2 separate regions of the Homo sapiens genome follow, and region 1 is linked to region 2. Evidence: promoter capture Hi-C in 16 types of primary human blood cells and fetal thymus (Javierre and others, 2016). All regions are on one chromosome and are shown on one strand. Each heading gives the region's core, a stretch centred on a gene start or on the middle of the fragment in contact. The rest is flanking DNA. Distances are from core to core; before and after follow the strand shown. Region 1 overlaps ENTPD1 (ectonucleoside triphosphate diphosphohydrolase 1). Region 2 holds the start of PDLIM1 (PDZ and LIM domain 1).

Evidence for each region. The method cuts DNA at HindIII sites, captures the fragments that hold promoters and counts their contacts. A CHiCAGO score of 5 or more calls a contact.
Region 1: a fragment that was not itself captured here is called in contact with the fragment with the promoter of PDLIM1 in region 2 in 1 of 17 cell types (total B cells); the score reaches 5.4 in total B cells.

What each region holds. Positions count from the first base shown.
Region 1 is chr10:95,834,007-95,838,657 of GRCh38, forward strand. All of the region lies in intron 2 of ENTPD1 (ectonucleoside triphosphate diphosphohydrolase 1), which reads left to right. All of the region lies in intron 4 of ENTPD1-AS1 (ENTPD1 antisense RNA 1), which reads right to left. Among named protein-coding and RNA genes, the nearest start is that of CC2D2B, 72 kb to the right of the region's middle. RefSeq lists an enhancer at 406-495. The HindIII fragment of the contact is 166 bases long and covers 2,725-2,890 here.
Region 2 is chr10:95,289,330-95,293,726 of GRCh38, forward strand. PDLIM1 (PDZ and LIM domain 1) reads right to left here and starts at 1,674. Exons shown (of 7, transcript NM_020992.4): 1 at 1,491-1,674. The coding sequence starts at 1,586. RefSeq lists enhancers at 191-510, 4,235-4,324 and silencers at 1,232-1,341, 1,362-1,461, 1,512-1,901, 1,952-2,031, 3,675-3,744. The HindIII fragment of the contact is 5,873 bases long and covers 1-4,397 here.

The DNA.
Region 1 (4,651 bases), core at 1,558-4,057, 550 kb after region 2:
GGGAAAACAGTCAAACCACAGCATCTGTCTTATGAGCTTTTTGGGGATGGTGTAGGACAACTCCAGTGGTACTACTTTATATTAGACAATGAATATTAACCTCTTTTAGGGCTGGAAGGAATTTAGGAACCATCCAGTTCCAACCCCCTCATTTATCCATTTGATTCAATAATGATCTGTTGAATTCTTTCTCTGTGCCTAATGTATAGTAGGATATACCATCGTGGATGCTGTATATACTGTGGTAAACAAAGTAGACCTGCCCTCATGTAGCTTACAATCTAATAATAAAGATAGATATTAATCAAATAGCTGCATAAATATGTAATTACACCATGTGGCCAGTACCGTCTTTAGAGGGAAAATACAGGCATTCTGATCAGGAGGGTAGGATCTAAACTCAGGAGGTCAGAGAAGGCTGAGATGTCAAGTGAAGGGCTTTCTCGGTAAAGGCCCTGGAGCAGAAACCATGAGACCTATGGGCAACTGCAAGCAGGCCAGTTCCACCAGAGGTGTTTTCTGAATGAGAAGAGGGTGAAATATTCTACTTCTGTGGAGCCAGGAAGCAGGCTGTCTGATGCTCTAGTTTCTCTTTCTTTCTGCTTCTAAATAGACTTACCCAGAAGCCTGGTACTATGACATTTGTGTAGGTAGAATTGTTTCCATCCTAAGGAGATATCTGCCCCATATCTATACGGCCTCCAGTCTCAGTGAGCTTAGGGTCTGTTGCGCCTACATTTCCAGGTCTTCACCAAGGCCCCTGCATTGGTGTTTCCATGAACCAAGCAAGGTCACTTCTACTGTTCCTCTTTCTGGACCAGCACTTCTATCCATGCAACCTAGCTCATGAAGATCGGTTATGATCTTCATGTGATCACTGCACTCCAGCCTGGGTGACAGAGCGAGACTCCGTCTCAAAAAAAAAAAAATTTAAAAATTTAATTTATTTTTAGACTCATGGGGCACATGTGCATATTTGTTTCATGGGTATATTGCATGATGCTGAGGTTTGGGCTTCTAATGATCCTGTCACCCAAGTAGTGAACATAGAACCTGACAGGTAGTTTTTCAACCTTTGACCTCCTCCCCACCTCCCCTCTTTTGGAATCCCTAGTGTTTATTGTTCCCGTCTTTGTGTTCATGTGTACCCAACGTTTAGCTTCCACTTATAAGAATATGCAGTATTTGGTTTTCTGTTCCTGTGTTAATTCGCTTAGGGTAGTGGCCTCCAGCTGCATTCATGTTGCTGCAAAGGACATGATTTCATTCTTTTTTATGGCTGCATAGTATTCCATGGTGCATATGTACCACATTTTCTTTATACAATTCATCATTGATGGACACCTGGGTTGATTCTATGTCTTTGCTATTATGAATAGTGCTGTGATAAATATACAAGTGCAGGTGTCTTTTTGGTGGAATAATTTGTTTTCCTTTGGGTATATACCTAGTAATGGGATTGCTGGGTCAAATGGCAATTCTATTTTTAGTTCTTTGAGAAATCTCTAACCTTCTTTTCACAGGGCTGAATAAATTTGCATTCCCACCAACAGTGTGTAAGCATTCTCTTGTATGCACAATCTTGCCAGCATCTGTTATTTTCTGACTTCTTAATAGCCATTCTGACTGGTATAAGATGGTATCTCATTGTGGTTTTAACATTCATCTCTCTGATGACCAGTGATGATGAGCATTTTTTCAAAAGTGTATTGGCCACTTGTATGTCTTCTCTTGAGAAGTGTCTATTTATGTCTTTGACCCACTTTTTGTGTGTTTACTCTGTCACTGGTTTTTTTTGCTGTGCAGAAGCTCTTTAGTTTAATTAGGTCCCAATTGTCACTTTTTGTTTTAACTGCATTTGCTTTTGAGGACTTAGTCATAAATTCTTTCCTGAGGCCAATGTCTGGAAGGGTATTTCCTAGGTTTCTTTTATGACTTTTATAGTTTGAGGGTCTTACAGTTATGTGTTTATTCTACCTTGAGTTAATTTTTGTATATTGTGAGAGGTAGGGGTGTAGTTTCATACTTCTACATATGGTTAGCCAGTTTTCCAACCACCATTTATTAAATAGGAAGTCCTTTTCCCATTGTTTATTTTTGTCAGCTTTGTCAAAGATCAGTTGGCTGTAAGTGTATGGCTTTATTTCAGGGTCTCTATTCTGTTCCATTGATCTATGTATCTATTTCTGTACCAGTACCATGCTGTTTTAGTTATCATAGCTTTGTGGTTTAAAGTTAGGTTATGTGATGCCTCTGGCTTTATCCTTTTTGCTTAGGATTGCCTTGGCTATTTGGGCTCTTTTTTGGTCTGTATGAATTTTAGAGTAGATTTTTTTCTAATTCTTTGATTTCTTTGGGCAATACGACGCATTCAAAAAAGACTTGGAAGGAAATAAATAAAAATAAAAGTGATATCTAATTAGTAGAATCTTAAACATCTTTTTTTACTTCATTTTATAAGTGATATTTAAGAAACTTTTAGTACTCTTAAAATAGAAAATAATATTGAAATGATCCCGAGGGAGTGTCAGATCTCTTCCTTACCACCTAAATCTTACTGCTTTCTTTAAAGGATATACTCATAGGGACTTTTGGAAATATTTAAATATAAGCTACAGAGAAATGTTGGGTTTCTCCACTGCCAGACTTTGAGGCATTCACTAGCTAATGGACTTTTGAGCCCAGGAGGCAGAGAGAACATGAACATTCTCCAGACTTCTGGGAAGCTTTATTTACTGAAGCCCCTGTAGGCCTCGTACTCTCTGGAACATGCATTGGAAAATGCTGGTGTGGTGGAAAGAGAACAAAACGTTGTGGCTACCTGGGCTCTGATGGATGTTGTAACAAAGAAAGGCAAGCTCCCCAAATGCTCAAATTGAACTTTCAGTCAAGCTTTATCTGTCTCTCAAGCAGCAAACAATGCCAGTTTTTTATTCTGCAAGCCATTTTAGAAGACAAAATGTTTGGCACAGTTGCACAGGTTAGCATGCTAGTGTACTGTGTACACAAGATGAAATGTCTTCAATTTGTGTTAAAATATGCTTTACCCCCTTCTCAAACACTTGTCAAATGAAACGTAGTAAAAGTTTTTGTTTCTCAACTACCTCACTGTGTAAGTAAGGCCTTAGAGAAAACAAGCTGACAGAAGCAAGCCTGGTTCTTTGGCTCTATGGGAAGAATGACTTTCGTATCAACAATGTTAGAATAAAATCTGATCCCAGATAAATGCTGCTTGCTGCTTCTACCTCACCAGTTTCTGTCGTATGCTGCTGTGGTTGGAACATTTTCTGGCAGGAAGAAATCAGGGGCTCTGTTAGGAAACAACAGAATTTTCTGCCATGTGTAATTCCTGAGCCTCTTTCTCCACTCTGGGAGGTTTCTCAAGGGTCCAGTGGCCCCAGACCTTAGTCAGTGTTCCTCTCTGCCCACAATGGCCACCACCTAAGCCATTTCTTGGATTCCTTTCACTGCAAGCCTAGCTGCAGAGGAGTCTGTCCAGCTTGCTTCCTTGCTGTGCCCAAAGCCAGCATACAGGCCCTTTTCTTTCTAAAGGCATAATGCTAATTACTGGAGGGAATCCCCACTGTGTGTAACTAGGAAGAGAACACTGTGGAGGTTATGGCAGGTCAAGGGTCCTTGCAAGGTCTGCACGGTGGTACTCCCTGGTCTAGTGAAATGGAGTAGAGTTTGACACTCAATAGGCTCTACTTTTAGCTTTTCCTAGTGGTCCAGGGAGGTCTCTTAAATCCTATTTCTTGTCTTCTTTTCTCCCTGGAGTCTCTTAGATTCATAGCAGATGATATATATACCCATTGCCACCTACATTTTCAGGTCTTCACTGGGGCCCCTACATTGGTGTCTCCATGAACCAAACAAGGTCATTTCTACTGTTCCTCTTTCCAGACCACTGCTTCTGTTCATGCAACCTAGCTTATATATGTAGGGAGATTCACACACACACACACACACACACACACCACACACCCACACACACCCACACACACAGCTAAATTAAGCATTTTTAAAGTGGCAGACCATACTTTGAGGTCTGCAGCTTAAATAAGCAGCCACGTGACAAGCGTCTCCTTCTTCTCTTCCTTTCGCTTCCCCATTTACTTCCCTCTATGTTTCTTCTCTAAGGAAGATTTAAAAGCACATGTGCCATCATGCTCTTCTCCCAAGTTCATATCAGATGTCATTAATCAATCATGGAATTTTTTAATCCTGAGTAAGCCCAGAGATATAACCAAAGATGACTATCAGTTGATCAAAATGGGCATTGAGCAGTTTACTCCTGGATAGATACCCCCAAAGAAATGAGAGCTTATTTCAACAAAATGAAATGCATATGAATGTTTCTGGCAGCTATATTTCCAGTAGCCCCAAACTGGAAATAACCCGAATGTCCATCAACAGTTGAATGGATAAAAATATAGTATATCCATATAATGAAATACTTTGCAGTGATGGAAAAAGATGAACTACTGATACACACAGTTTGAGTTCATCTTACATAGTGTAAAGTGAAAGAAGTTAGACATAAAGGAGGCATACTATGTGAGTTCATACATTGCAGTTCAAAAACAGGCAGAACTCATACATGGTGGTAGAAGTTAAGACAGTGGTAACTGACTGAGAGGGGCACTGGGAA
Region 2 (4,397 bases), core at 424-2,923:
CTCGGGGACGATTCTGGGGAAGGCACAGTTCCTGCGCTTGAGGAATTAGGCTGGTGGCTGGAAAGGCAGTGTGTACCTTTGAGAATAATCAGAGGTCTCTGTGGGACGAGGCAAACAGGTGGAAGATAAGGCCCAAAAACTGGCCCGCCTACTCTTTTAGGGGGGTGAGATAGAGAAGACCTCCTCACTGGGCCAGGCCAACCGGGAAAGAAGCATGGGTAGGACTGTGGCTGGCAGACAAGTCAAGAGGAGGCCACCAATTCTTCTCCTGCACCTCCCACCAAACTCCTTCAGCTGCTGGACGCAGGAGCTTGAGTCAAAAGGATCCATAAGGATATTTCCCTTTCTTCTCCACCCTTCCCCCAACCCCAAGTGAAAAAGAAGGATGTTTAGAAAGTCTGGGAGACAAGCTGAAGGGCAGCTTCAGCAGGCAGATGAGCCCAAGAATGGAATGTGCCGCCTACAGGCAAGGAGTGGCCATGGGTGGGGAGAAAGGGGACTTCTTTTTCTCCCTTTCCTCATTCGAGGTACTTACTGAGTCTCTTCTTGGTGCCCAAGCACTGAACGTGACATCTCTTAGTGGGACATCAACCTGTGTTTGGCCAGATTAAATGGCCAAAGCCCAGACCTCTGAACACTGAGTCTGGGTCTCCCTGGGGGTTTCACTTTATTAGGGGGGCAATGGTTCTGGTGGCCCCTGATTCAACGTGAGTCCTTCTAAAGATCCGAAGCCCCTCTTAGATTTCAAGCACCTCAACCCCACCCCAGGTGGACACCCCATCGCAGTATCTACTCATGCCCTGAGAAAAAAGGGCTGGTGCGGGGAGGGGAAAGAGATAATCTGGGAATGCTAGGAAGAATGACGGCGGGGCCACGTTCTGCAGAGGGGAGAATGACCAAGAGGGTTTACTTGAGTTTGTTTGTTGTGTTTATTTCCCGAATCCAGCACATTCTCCAAAAGCCATTCGAGGGGCGAGCCTCGGCCGTGGGTCAAGTCCAAAGAGCGTGTTTCGGTTGTTTTTTTAGGTTAATCCCACTTGCCCCCCACCCCAGTAAACTTCCCACCCACCCCACCTCACTTTCCAGGTCTTTCCTGTTGCGTTCGGCTGCACTGCGATCTGGGAAGAAGGGAGAAGTGCCATCTCCCAGCGCGCGGGATCTGCGGGGACCCTCGTCCCCTCGCTGGTTGACAAAGAACTAACACCCGCCCCGCCGCGCTTCCGGGGCCAAAGAACGAAAACTGCCTTCTTTTTTTCTGGCGGACACGGAGCGCGCCCGCGGCGGGCCGACCAGCCCGGGAGCGCAGCCTCCGCGAAGGGGCGGCGGGGAGCGGCGGGGCCCGGGCGCGCGGAGAGCGCTCAACTAACAGCGCACCTGGACGCGCCCGGCTGCGGTTCCGACTCCGTCCCCGACCGCGCCCGCGGGGCCCCAGTCTCCGCATATCACCTCCCATAGCGCCCCGCTTCCACGCACGTCCCAGCTGCTCTTACCCGGGAAATGGCGAGAGGCTGCTCGAAGTCCTTGCCGCCCACGAGGCGGAAGCCCCACGGCCCCGGGCCCTGGAGGTCTATCTGCTGGGTGGTCATGGCGCGGCTGTGGCGGGCGACGACCCGCGGGGACAGACGGGCAGGACGCGCGGAACAGCTTGCAGGGCACCCCCGGCGGCTGTCGGAGAAAGAGCGGCGCGGCGCGGGCCCGGGGAGCCTGGGGCTGGCGGGGGCAGGGCAACCGCGAGGGCCAGGGCGGGGGCGGCTCCGCCCAGGCCGCGTAGCCGCCCGCCGCCCCGCCCGTCCTCCCGCCCGCAGCCGCTCCCCGCCCTGCGCGCCGGCCTGGGGGCCCTGGCCCGGAGTCCCGCCGAGAGAGCGCGAGTCAGATGCGGGGCCGGGGCTCTCAGCAGCTCTGCCCGGGACCCCACACCGCCTCCCTCCCTCCTGTACGCACGGCCGCACCGCGGCTCTCGGGCCCGGGGCGGGTGCTAGGTGAGAGGGAAGCAGGTCCTGACAGCGAGACAAACTCGCGCCTCGTGCTTTGTAAAACGAGAAATTTGAAGTGCTGTGCCAAGTCAGCCCTCTGAGGTCGGCTCCGACTTCCCATTTGCTTTTTGTAATCGGTAATGATGTTTAAAAGGTGCTTTCGAACGATCTCATTTGATGCTGAGGCAACCGGGACGTTTAGTCCCATTTTACAGATGAAGTAACTGAGTCTGCTCAGTAGGTGAGAAGACTTGCCCGACGCTACACCACTCGTCAGCATCTGGACCACTGCCCGGGCCCAGTGCTGCAGAACCCCATCCTGGAACTTTTATAATGCTAATGAGACCATCACTCAGGTTATAACTGAACTTCAAGGCCTTCCTAGAAATCTTTCCTCCAGGCTGGAGTTCATGGTAGGTTCTGACCTCAACAGTTCAAACCTCAAGTTTGGGGCGGGCCAAGGGCCAAGTCAATGCAAAAGAAGAGCTGAGTCCGGGACCTGGATTCCCAGCCTCCCACCAGCTTCCTAGCCAGGCTCCCCCTGACGCCCTCCCGGTGGAGTGCATTCTCCACGCCGGACCAGACCATTTCTCATGCTGTCCATGGCGTCCCCACCTCACCACCAGTGAAAACCCAGATCCTTACAATGCCTACAAGGCCACCCCTAGAATGGCCCCAACTCCCTCTCTGACCCCAACTCCTCCTGCCCTTTCCTCACCTGCCCCCCAGTCTGCCAGGCTGTGCTCCTTGCTCCTAACTCAGGGCCTTGCCTCAGGGCCCTGTCTGCAATGCTGTTCTCCCAGACATCCCCACCACTCTCTGTCATTTTCTAGGGGCCGGACACGTGGCTCACGCCTGGAATCCCGGCACTTTGGGAGGCTGAGTCAGGAGGATCAGTTGAGCCCAGGAATTCTAGACCAGCCCCAGCAACACGGCAAGACCCTGTCTCTACAAAAAAATTTAAAAAAATAAAAATTAACCAGGTTTGGTGGGGCACACCTGTCCCAGCTTCTAGGGAGACTGAGGTGGGAGGATGGCTTGAGCCGGAGAGGTCAAGGCTGCAGTGAGCTGTGGTCGTGCAACTGTACTCCAGCCTGGGTGACAGAGTGAGACCCTATCTCAAAAACTAAAAAATAAAAAAAATGCAAATGTCATTTTCTGAGGTCATCTCTGAGCATCATTTAAGATATCCTCTCTAGAATGCTCTATTACCTTCCCCTGCCTTATTTTTTTCTTTTGTATGTATCACCATCTGGCATTCTCTATATTTTGTATATTTATTTGTTCCACCCCCACTCTTAAGCATTAATTCCATAAGGACAGGGGTTTTTATCTGTTTAGATCACTGCTGTGCCCCAGTGCCTAGAATAGTGCCTGGCACATAGTACTTAATGTATATAACACATTGGCCATCCTCAGGACCACTTACCCTCTCTGGGCCCAGTTTCTTCGCAGTTTTCTTGGCACCCATTCATCCTGGTACCCAGGCCCCAGCACAGTGCTTGGCATAGAGCCCATGCTCAATGAGTTTGTTCCCTGTGCAGCTCTGTCTCCCTGTGATCCTGGCCTACCTACTGAAGAGCCCTGTGCACAGATTTACACATAAAAAGATTATCTTGCTTGTCCAATTGTGTGACAGCACAAATGCCTATGTTTGGGAATAGTTTGTTTGCTTTTAGAAATCCAAGTGGAGGGCCGGGCACGGTGGCTCACACCTGTAATCCCAACACTTTGGGAGGCCAAGGTGGGCGGATCACCTGAGGTCTGGAGTTCGAGACCAGCCTGACCAACATAGAGAAACCCATCTCTACTGAAAATACCAAAAATTAGCCGGGCGTGGTGGCGCATGCCTGTAATCCCAGCTGCTCGGGAGTCTGAGGCAGGAGAATCACTTGAACCCGGGAGGTGGAGGTTGTGGTGAGCCGAGATCACGCCATTGCACCCCAGCCTGGGCAACAAGCGCGAAACTCGGTCTAAAAAAAAAAAAAAAAAAGGAAATGAAAGTGGAGTTGTATGATTATACATCCCTCTCAACCTCTTGCAACCTGATATTCTTTCCTGAACCTGAGAAAAAGAATGGTGTTATAGCCAGTAACCAGCCACCTGCTTTATGAACACCAAAAATACATTCTCTTTGTTTAAGATTCTGTTGATTAGAAAGCATGACTGTGTTTCAAGTCCCTGCAGAATTTGCAGGAATCACCGAATTCTGAATCTGTCCCTAGATGTGTAACCATCTTGAATATTTTCTGTCCTAGAAGGAGAAAAGGGTTGAAAAGTCACAGCTTCTGTGCTTCTGAAGGCAGAGACTGCCTTTCATTCATTCCAAGTGCCCTGCTAGCATGGACCTCAATCACAGTAGGTGTCAATAAGTGTTTATTCCGTACAATAGTCTATACAGACATAGTGCACTAATGTGTTAGC